Regions from separate parts of the Homo sapiens genome. Here region 1 is linked to region 2. The links are contacts of gene promoters, found by promoter capture Hi-C in blood cells and fetal thymus (Javierre and others, 2016). All regions are on one chromosome and are shown on one strand. The core of a region is centred on a gene start or on the middle of the fragment in contact, and the rest is flanking DNA. Distances in the headings are between cores, read along the strand shown. Region 1 holds the start of SLC61A1 (solute carrier family 61 member 1). Region 2 holds the start of AAAS (aladin WD repeat nucleoporin).

The links. Contacts are between HindIII fragments. The CHiCAGO score rates a contact against its expected background, and 5 or more counts as called.
Region 1: a contact is called between the fragment with the promoter of SLC61A1 here and a fragment that was not itself captured in region 2, in 1 of 17 cell types (total B cells). The highest score is 5.1, in total B cells.

Annotation. Positions count from the first base shown.
Region 1 is chr12:53,249,590-53,253,986 of GRCh38, reverse strand. It overlaps SLC61A1 (solute carrier family 61 member 1), which reads right to left and starts at 1,892. Exons shown (of 2, transcript NM_032889.5): 1 at 1,719-1,892; 2 at 1-1,169. The coding sequence starts at 1,151. RefSeq lists silencers at 1,570-1,619, 1,630-1,909 and enhancers at 1,375-2,046, 2,180-2,229. The HindIII fragment of the contact is 5,764 bases long and covers 1-4,397 here.
Region 2 is chr12:53,316,835-53,321,654 of GRCh38, reverse strand. AAAS (aladin WD repeat nucleoporin) reads left to right here and starts at 45. Exons shown (of 16, transcript NM_015665.6): 1 at 45-312; 2 at 963-1,090. The coding sequence starts at 190. RefSeq lists enhancers at 9-198, 1,417-1,506. The HindIII fragment of the contact is 2,664 bases long and covers 1-2,651 here.

The DNA of each region.
Region 1 (4,397 bases), core at 643-3,142, 68 kb after region 2:
GGTACCCGGAACCAGTTGAGTACACCAGCCTGCTCTGTCTCAGGGATCACCTTTCTCCGTAGGAAGCTCATGCTGGGAAAGTATAATCCACAAGCCAACTCAATAAGTAGAAAGGCTATGAAGGACTCCACCGGACTCTCCTGGCCTGGGCTGGTAGAGAAAGTCAACATGAAGAGAGAGAAGACGACGATGAGCACAGCAAGGGACAGCAGGTGCATGGGCTGAAGGTGGTACCTCTTGGAGGTGGCGATACGGTACAGGGAAGAGCCAAGCAGGCTGGCTGCCATGAAGCTGGAGAAGATAATGCCCAGAGGGGCCCCGTGTGGGTCCAGCACAGGTGTCCAGAGGAAGACAAAGATGAAGATGACACTCTCAAATAGAGCTTGTATGGTGCCCAACAGCAGCACGCGGCGGTCCGACAGGAGGCAGCGCAGGCCTCCAGCACAGGTCCTTGAGAAGGCACGCTGCCGGTCATAGTTCTCCCCCCAGTTTCGAAGGGCCAAGGCCCCTGCCAGAGCCAGGAGAGGGATGGCAGCCACAAAGGGCGCTACAGGCCCCAGCCCTATCCAGCTGGCTACAGCCTCAGCTGCCACACCTGCCACTACAGCCAGCACATGGTTCCAGAAGGCAGCTCGAGCAAAGGTAGCTGGGATCCACTCAGCAGGGAAGTCATGCCGTTCCACGTGCTCATGGATATACCAGGCCTCGAAGGCTGAGAAGAGCAGGGCTGTGGACAGCCCACCAAGTGCTCGCCCCACTAGCAGCACAAAGTAGTCTTGAGAGAGTTTGGTTAAGCAGCATAGTGAGTAAGTCAGGGAGAAGAGGACACAAGAATTCTTGCGACCCAGCCAATCCACAAGGGAGGAGGCCACTAGGCCAAAGAGGACTGTAGAGGCAAGGCCACAGACATAGAGGATGGCAATTTGACCTTCCAGGAAGTAGTAATGCTGGTAGAGTTTATAGAGGTAGGGGGCCTGAAGCCAATCAGCTGCCAGGGCCAGGAAGTAGACCTGATAGAAGTCCAGTTGAAACCGAAGGAAGGAGGGATTGCTGCAGGCCCTTCCAGGGGGTTTAGCCCGGCATCTTGACAGTTCCAGCCCCAGGCAGGAGGCCAGGAGGCCTACAAAAGCAAGGTAGGCAGTCACCAGCATGGTGGGCCCCCGGACGACCTGGGAAGAGAGGTGGGAGTCAGAGCCATATCCATCCTTCGGGCAGCACGGTCAAGGGGCTGTCTTAAGCAGATGGCAGCTCCACCCAACCCCGCTGCCAACTCCACTCCCCAAGATCTCAGACCGGAGGGACCAGTTGGGTGGGTGGGAGGAGTGGCCACGCCAAAGCTGTCTCCTAGGACACTGTGGGGCAGGGAGGGGTAAGAAGACAGGGGAGAGGACTGGGCACTCAACCCATCCTTGCCTGTGAAGAGGGAGTCCCTTTCAATAATCCCGCTCCCGCAAATTCTACTGCCCTTTCCCACAGCAGCTCCCGTACACTTCCTTCTATTACCTCCCGTCCTCGCTGCGGAGCCTCTTTTTGCCCTCAGTGTCTCATCCTCTGTCCCGGGCATCCCTCCCACCCGCGCAGGCCTCTCGAGTTGCTTCAGGGTCATGCGTGTGCATCTCAGAGGCCCACTCCTCCAGGTCACTGGCACCCCACTGCGCCCCCTAGCCCCTGCCCAGCCCTGCCACATCCACTTGCACCTCGCCCAGACTCCGCCTCACCTGCTGCCCCGGTCTGCGGGGACGCCCCGGACACGTCCGGCTCCAGGCCGCCAGGCCACCCTCCCCGCTGTGGCTCCGGCTCCGGCTCGGGTTCCAGCAGCGCTCCCGCCCCTCACAGCCTGCTTCCGGGAGCCGGGCAGGCCTCTGGCCGCCGCCATGATGGCTTCATCACGTGACGGGGGCGCGGCGCCAAAACCCCGCCCCGCCCCGCCCGCCCGCCCTCCTTCCCTTACCCGGGCGCGGAACTCCTGACGCCTGGGGTGGGTCGGGAAGGGGCGACCATAGGAGGCTGCGGTTGCTTCTCCTGGCCTGGCCTCGCTCGCTGCCATCCCGTGACACCTGCTCCTCTGGCTCTTGGATGCCTGAGGGGCCACCCTGAAATAAGTGCCAATTTTCTTTTCTTCCGTGCAGTGCTCGGGAAAGATGCCCGCAGTCCGGTAGAGCCAAGGGTTGGAGCTTCCTAAGGAACAGCACCGCTGCCCGAAGCCGAGAAGGTCTCCTTGGTTTGCCTCCTCTCCCACTGCAGTGACCTCCATGCAAGAGAAGCCAGTATGGTCCAGACACCTGAGGGAGGCGGTGTGGTGTAAAGAACTTGGAGTCGGGCTGCAGACAGACTAAGGCGCAGTCCTGCCCCTGTCACTTACCAGCTGTGTGGCCTTGGGCAAGCCGCATAACTTCCCAGTGTCCCAGTTTCTTTGAAGTCACAGGATAGCAATGCCCAAATAAAGAAGGCTAAAGTTCAGTGGCAGCATGGGGTTAAGAACTTCAGCCTTGGAGCTTAATTCCCTACCTTCTGCCACTTACAAGCTGTTTTACCTTGGAAAAACTATTTAACCTCTCTACAGCTTCCGTATCATCTCCTCAAGAGCCTCCAATGACTTCCCATCTCACTAAGGGTAAAAGCCGAAGTATTTATAATGGCCTACAAGACCCTCTGTCCTCTGACCCTCTGCCACTCCTCTGACTTCATCCCCTGCTCCTCTCCCTCCCATCTATGTTGGCTACCACCAGGGCTTTTGCACACTGTTCCCTGTACAGTTCTTCTCCAAGATATCCACGTGGTTCCCCCCCCCACCTCCTCCAGTTCTCTGTTCAAATGTCACCTGATCTTGGCTGGGCCTGGTGGCTCATTCCTGTAATCCCAGCAGTTTAGGAGGCTGAGGCAGGCCGATCAGTTGAGGTCAGGAGTTCAAGATCAGCCTGGCCAACATGGTGAAACCCCGTCGCTAGTAAAAAAATATAAAAATTAGCCAGGCATGGTGGTGGGCACCTGTAATCCCACCTACTCGGGAGGCTGAGGCAGGAGAATCGCTTGAACCAGGGAGGCAGAGGTTGCAGTGAGCCAAGATCACGCCACTGCACTCCAGTCTGGGTGACAGAGCGAGACTCTGTCTCACAAAAAAATAAAAAATAAAATAAAATTTTAAAAAATGTCACCTGATCAGAGGGGCCTTCCATGGCCCTCCTGTTTAAAATAGCAACACCACCACCTCCAGCACAGTAATCTACCTACTTTCCTTCCAATTTTCTATTCTCTCTGCTGCTTTTACTCTGCAGTACACTATGTATTTTCCTTGTTTATTTATTTACTATCTTGGCCAGGTGTGGTGGCTCACACCTGTAATCTCAACACTTTGAGAGGCCAAGGTGGGTGAATCACTTGAGGCCAGGAATTTAAGACCAGTCTGGCCAACATGTCGAAACCCCATGCCTACTAATAATACAAAAAATTGCTGGGCGCGGTGGCTCACACCTGTAATCCCAGCACTTTGGGAGGCCGAGGCGGGCGTATCATGAGGTCAGGAGTTCAAGACTAGCCTGGCCAATATGGCGAAACCCCGTCTCTACTAAAATTACAAAAAAATTTGCTGGGCATGGTGGTGTGCACCTGTAATCCCAGCTACTTTGGAGGCTGAGGCAGGAGAATTGCTTCAACCTGGGAGGCAGAGGTTGCGGTAAGCCGAGATTGCACCACTGCACTCCAGCCTGGGCAACAGAGCAAGACTCCGTCTCAAAACAAATAAACAAAAAAATTAGCTGGGCCTGGTGGTGCGCGCTTGTAATCCCACCTACTCAGGAGGCTGAGGTACGAGAATTGCTTGAACCTGGGAAGCGGAGGCTGCAGTGAGCCAAGATTACACCACTGCACTCCAGCCTAGGGGACAGAGCAAGACTTCGTCTCTAAGTAAATAAGTAAATATTTACTATCTCTTTCCCTACAGATTTTTATCTGTTTTGTTCACCTGTATTCCCTATACTTAAAGCAGTCATTGATAAGTATTAATCATAAATATTCCATAAATAGTCTATGAATAAATGAATAAGTTATGTAAATTACTATCAAAAGTACTGGCCCATATTAACATAATAACACTTATCAGTTATTATGTACCTAAGGAGTTTTAAGAAGGTTTAGTCCAACTGCTGTAGGTGAATTATCTCATCTGACTGACAACAATCCATACAGTAGGTACTAACCAGAGTTGGAAAGGTTAGGTAACATGTTTAGAGTTACATAGTAAAAGGCAGTTAGAAGCAGGACCCAATCTTTCCAGTTCCAAGCTCACATAGTTTCTGCAATTATACTAGTTCACCTACTTGCGCAGCAGATCAGTCTTTTTTTTTTTTTATTTGAGACGGAGTTTCACTCTTGTTGCCCAGGCTGGAGTGCAATGGCGT
Region 2 (4,820 bases), core at 70-2,569:
CCGGGACCGCGTACTCGTCCTTCTTTCCCGTTAGTCTTTTCTTCACTTCCGTTGAGTTCCGCCTCGCCGTTTGTCCCTTGCGGTACCCGTCCGCATACGAATCTAGCCCGGGAACCGAGTTGCGGGAGTGCGGTCTGTGCCGTTCCGGCCAGGAGTTTGCCGACTGCAGACGTCCTGCGAACCGGCAAGATGTGCTCTCTGGGGTTGTTCCCTCCTCCACCGCCTCGGGGTCAAGTCACCCTATATGAGCACAATAACGAGCTGGTGACGGGCAGTAGCTATGAGAGCCCGCCCCCCGACTTCCGGGGCCAGGTGGCCAGGGCGAGGAGGGAGGGGACCTACAGGCATGGGGGCGGAGTCGGGGACTACTGGGGAAAGGAGGCAGTGTGACAGGGGCAGGGTCACAGAGTCTGGCGGAGTGGAAACAGCTTGGCCCCGGCAGGAGGCTAGAAGGGCTGGAATCTGTTTTAGGACTGGGATTGGAGTATAACGGGGGAACGGTTAAGGAGCTGTGGAGGAGGCCTAGAGGGAATGGAGAGAATGAGGGAGAATCTAGGGAGTGTGAGGATGCGGGAGAACTATCTAAAAGTTGGGGACAGTATCTGGGGAGGATCAGAAGGATACAACATGGAACTTTTTTCCATGGTGTTCCTGGGAAGGACAAGGAAGGGAAACTGACATTTATTGAGCGTTTGCTATGTAAGAAAGAGGCTGAGTCAGGTGTTTTCTAAAAATGTCATATGGTTTCATAATCACAGCAACCCTATGAAATATTATTCTAGTTGCACAGATACGGGAGCTAAGACTTGTTTCCCATTCTCACAAGTGTTAGCTTTGTGGAAATGGGAAACAGACCTCTGGAATCTCTTATACTTAGCCCAGCGGTGGGTTGGAGATGGCACGGAATTAAAGATTTGGGAAGAGACTGAATCACCGTCACACTCCTCACTTTTGTGCTATAGTGGATCAATCTTCCTGTCCTACAACTGACAAAGGATCCCCTAAAGACCCCTGGAAGGCTGGACCATGGCACAAGAACTGCCTTCATCCATCACCGGGAGCAAGTGTGGAAGAGATGCATCAACATTTGGTGAGGCATGGCAAAGGGTTTCCTGGGTCACAGTCTGCAGATCCTGGAAAATGAGTCAACACCCCTTTACCTTGGGGTGTTCTTCAAAAGACTTTTATTCAGGCTGTCTCCACGAGAGCTGTATATCCTAAATCATATGAAATTTTTAGTCCTTATTATAGAACTCAAATGCTCAATAAATGTCAGGTTCCCTTCCTTGCCCTTCCCAGGAACACTATGGAAAAAGTACTTCCATTTCATCTCTAGTAACTTGCCTTGCTTTCTGGCTTGATTAGGTGAACCTGCTCCCTGCCCCCACCTCATGGCATTACCACTTCTGAGCTTTTACCTGAAGCTCAGCAAGATCAGATATAAGGTTGCACTGAATAATCTCCTACATAGGTCATCCACTTTGCACTTGTAGGAGTGGAGCTACACTACCTGGTTTCATTTTCTTTTTTTTTTTTGAGATGGAGTTTCACTCTTGTTGCCCAGGCTGGAGTGCAGTGGCGTGCTCAGCTCACTGCAACTTCCACCTCCCAGGTTCAAGCGATTCTTCTGCCTCAGTCTCCCGAGTAGCTAGGATTACAGGCATGTGCCACCACGCCCAGCTAATTTTGTATTTTTAGTAGAGACAGGGTTTCTCCATGTTGGTCAGGCTGGTCTTGAACTTCCGACCTCAGATGATGTGCCCGCCTTGGCCTCCCAAAGTGCTGGGATTACAGGCGTGAGCCACCGCGCCCGGCTCATTTTCTTTTTCTTTTTTTTTTTTTTTTTTTTTTTGAGACGGAGTCTTGCTGTGTTGCCAGGCTGGAGTGCAGAGGTGCGATCTCGGCTCACTGCAGCCTCCGCCTCTCTGGTTCAAGCAGTTCCCCTGCCTCAGCCTCCCGAGTAGCTGGTACTATAGGCATGTGCCACCACGCCCAGCTAACTTTTTGTATTTTAGTAGAGATGAGATTTCACCATGTTGGCCAGGGTGGTCTGGCCTCCTGACCTCAGGCCTGCCTTGGCCTCCCAAAGTGCTGAGATTACAGCTACTGCACCTGGACCTATTAATGGCACATATTAATTCCTTTAAGGGTTATTTATGCCAGGCACAGTGACTCACGCCTATAATCCCAGCGCTTTGGTAGGCTGAGGCCAGCAGATTGCTTGAGCTTAGTAGTTTGAGACTAGCCTGGGGAACATGGCGAAACCATGTTCTTTTCTCTACAAGAAAAGTACAAAAATTAGCTGGGTATGGTGGCATGCACCTTTATTCCCAGCTACTTGGGAGGCTTATGTATAGGAGGATCACTTGAGCCTGGGAGGTGGAGGTTGTAGTGAGCCAAGATTGTGCCAGTGCAGTGGCACTGAGTGAGACCTTGTCTCAAAAAAAAAAAAAGGGTTACTTAATATTTTTATTAATACCATTACCATTTGTAGGATAAATTCCTAGAAATTAAGTTGCTGGCTCAGAGGGTATGTTCATCTGTAATTTTGTGAGCTGTTCCAAATAGCCCTCTGTCAAAATGGTACATGTATATGGTCCCACCAGCAGTGTATGGGAGTGCCTGTTTTCCAACACATGTGCTGTCAAGCTTTGATCTTTGGTACTTCAGTACAGTTTAATGGGCATGCCTGTGTGTGTGAAGTTGAATATCAGTTTGTTGAAAAGCCATTCATTCCCAGGCTCCTTGTCTCCTACTTCTGTGGCTGCTGCTTCTCAGGGTTTTTGGTGGCTCCTCTTCCTGATGTCCCTTAAATGTTGGTGTTCTTGGGGCTAGATTTCCAGTTGATGCATCAGACCTGGTGTTCACGTGTTTGCCAAATTATCCTGCTTGAATATTTCGCAGACTTCATATATTCAGCATGCTCAAATCCAGTCTCTTTATTTCTCTCTCCAAATCTGCTTCTCTGGATGGTTCACTTTAAGGAATGATCATATTACTCATTCAGGAAAAAGTGGTTTGAGTATAGGTTCTGGGGTAGATAGATGGTTGAATCCTGACTGCTACTTTCTACTTAGATTACCTTGTTCATATTAATTAGCCTCTTCACACCTTTGTTCTCTCATCTAAAAATGCAGTGATAGTCTGGGCGCGGAAGCTCATGCCTGTAATCCCAGCACTTTGGGAGGCCAAGGCGGGTGTATCACTTGAGGTCAGGAGTTCGAGACCAGCCTGGCCAATGTGGTGAAACTCCGTGTGTAATCCTAATTACTCAGGAGGCTGAGGTGCAAGAATTGCTTGCACCCAGGAGGTAGAGGTTGCAGTGAGCCGAGTTCACACCACTGCACTCCAGCCTGGGTGACAGAGTGAGACTCCGTCTTAACACACACACACACACACACACACACACGCACACACACACACACACACACTGAAACCCCATCTCTACAAAAAATTTAAAAATTAGCTGGGCATGATGGTGTGCACCCGTAGTCTCAGCTCCTCGGGAGGCCGAGGCAAGAATACCTGAGCTCAGGAGATTGAGGCTGCAGCGAGCCGTGATGGTGATATTGCACTCCAGCCTGGGTCACAGAGCAAGACCCTGTCTCAATAAAATAAAAATAAATGCAGTGATAACAATACCTATCTTGTAGGATTGTCATAATGGCTTGATTAGTTAATGTGAGGCACCTAGTCCAGAGCTGGCACATTGTAAGCATATTAGCTGATGTAATTATTACCTAGGTGTTTCTGTTGTATTGCTCTTTCCTTTACTAATGTCTGATTAGTCTTCACATCTTGTTTATGCTAATTCCTAAATCTCTCAAATCTGTCTCTTTTTCTTCATCCCCACCAGTTCAGGCCACTTTCACCTTTTTCCTAGGTTCCTGAAGTAGATTCTTTTTTTTTTTTTGAGACAGAGTCTCACTTTGTCACCCAGGCTGGAGTGCAGTGGCGTGATCTCAGCTCGCTGCAACCTCCGCCTCCTGGGTTCAAGCAATTCTTCTGCCTCAGCCTCTGAGTAGCTGGGACTACAGGTGCACACCACCACGCCTGGTTAATTTTTGTTTTGTTTTATTTTTTTGGTTTTTTTTTTTTGAGACGGAGTCTCGCTCTGTTGCCCAGGCTGGAGTGCAGTGGCACGATCTCGGCTCACTGCAAGCTTCGCCTCCCGAGTTCACTCCATTCTCGTGCCTCAGCCTCCCGAGTAGCTGGGACTACAGGCGCCCACCACCACACCTGGCTAATTTTTTGTATTTTTAGTAGAGATGGGGTTTCACCGTGTTAGCCAGGATGGTCTTGATCTCTTGACCTTGTGATCCGCCCGCCTCAGCCTCCCAAAGTGCTGGGATTACAGGTGTGAGCCACCGCACCTGGCCAATTTTTGTATTTTTAATAGAGATGAGGTTTCACCATCTTGACCAGGCTGGTCTCGAACTCCTGACCTCGTGATCCACCTGCCTTGGCCTCCCAGCGTGCTGGGATTACAGGTGTGAGCCACCGCACCCGGCCCTGAAGTAGATTCTTAACTGATTTATTTTTCTCTATTATTATTATTATTTTTTGAGACAGCATCTTGCTCTGTTGCCCAGTGTGGAGTGCAGTGGCGCAAACATGGAACACGGCTCACTGCATTGTCAGCCCCCAGGGCTCAAGTGATGCTCCTTCCTCAGCCTCCCAAGTAGCTGGGACTACAGGCATGTGCCACCACACCTGCCTAAGTTTTGTATTTTTTTTTGTAGAGACAGCATTTCCCTATGTTGCCTAGGCTGGTCTCAAGCTCTTGAGCTCAGGCGATCCACCTGCCTTGGCCTCCCAAA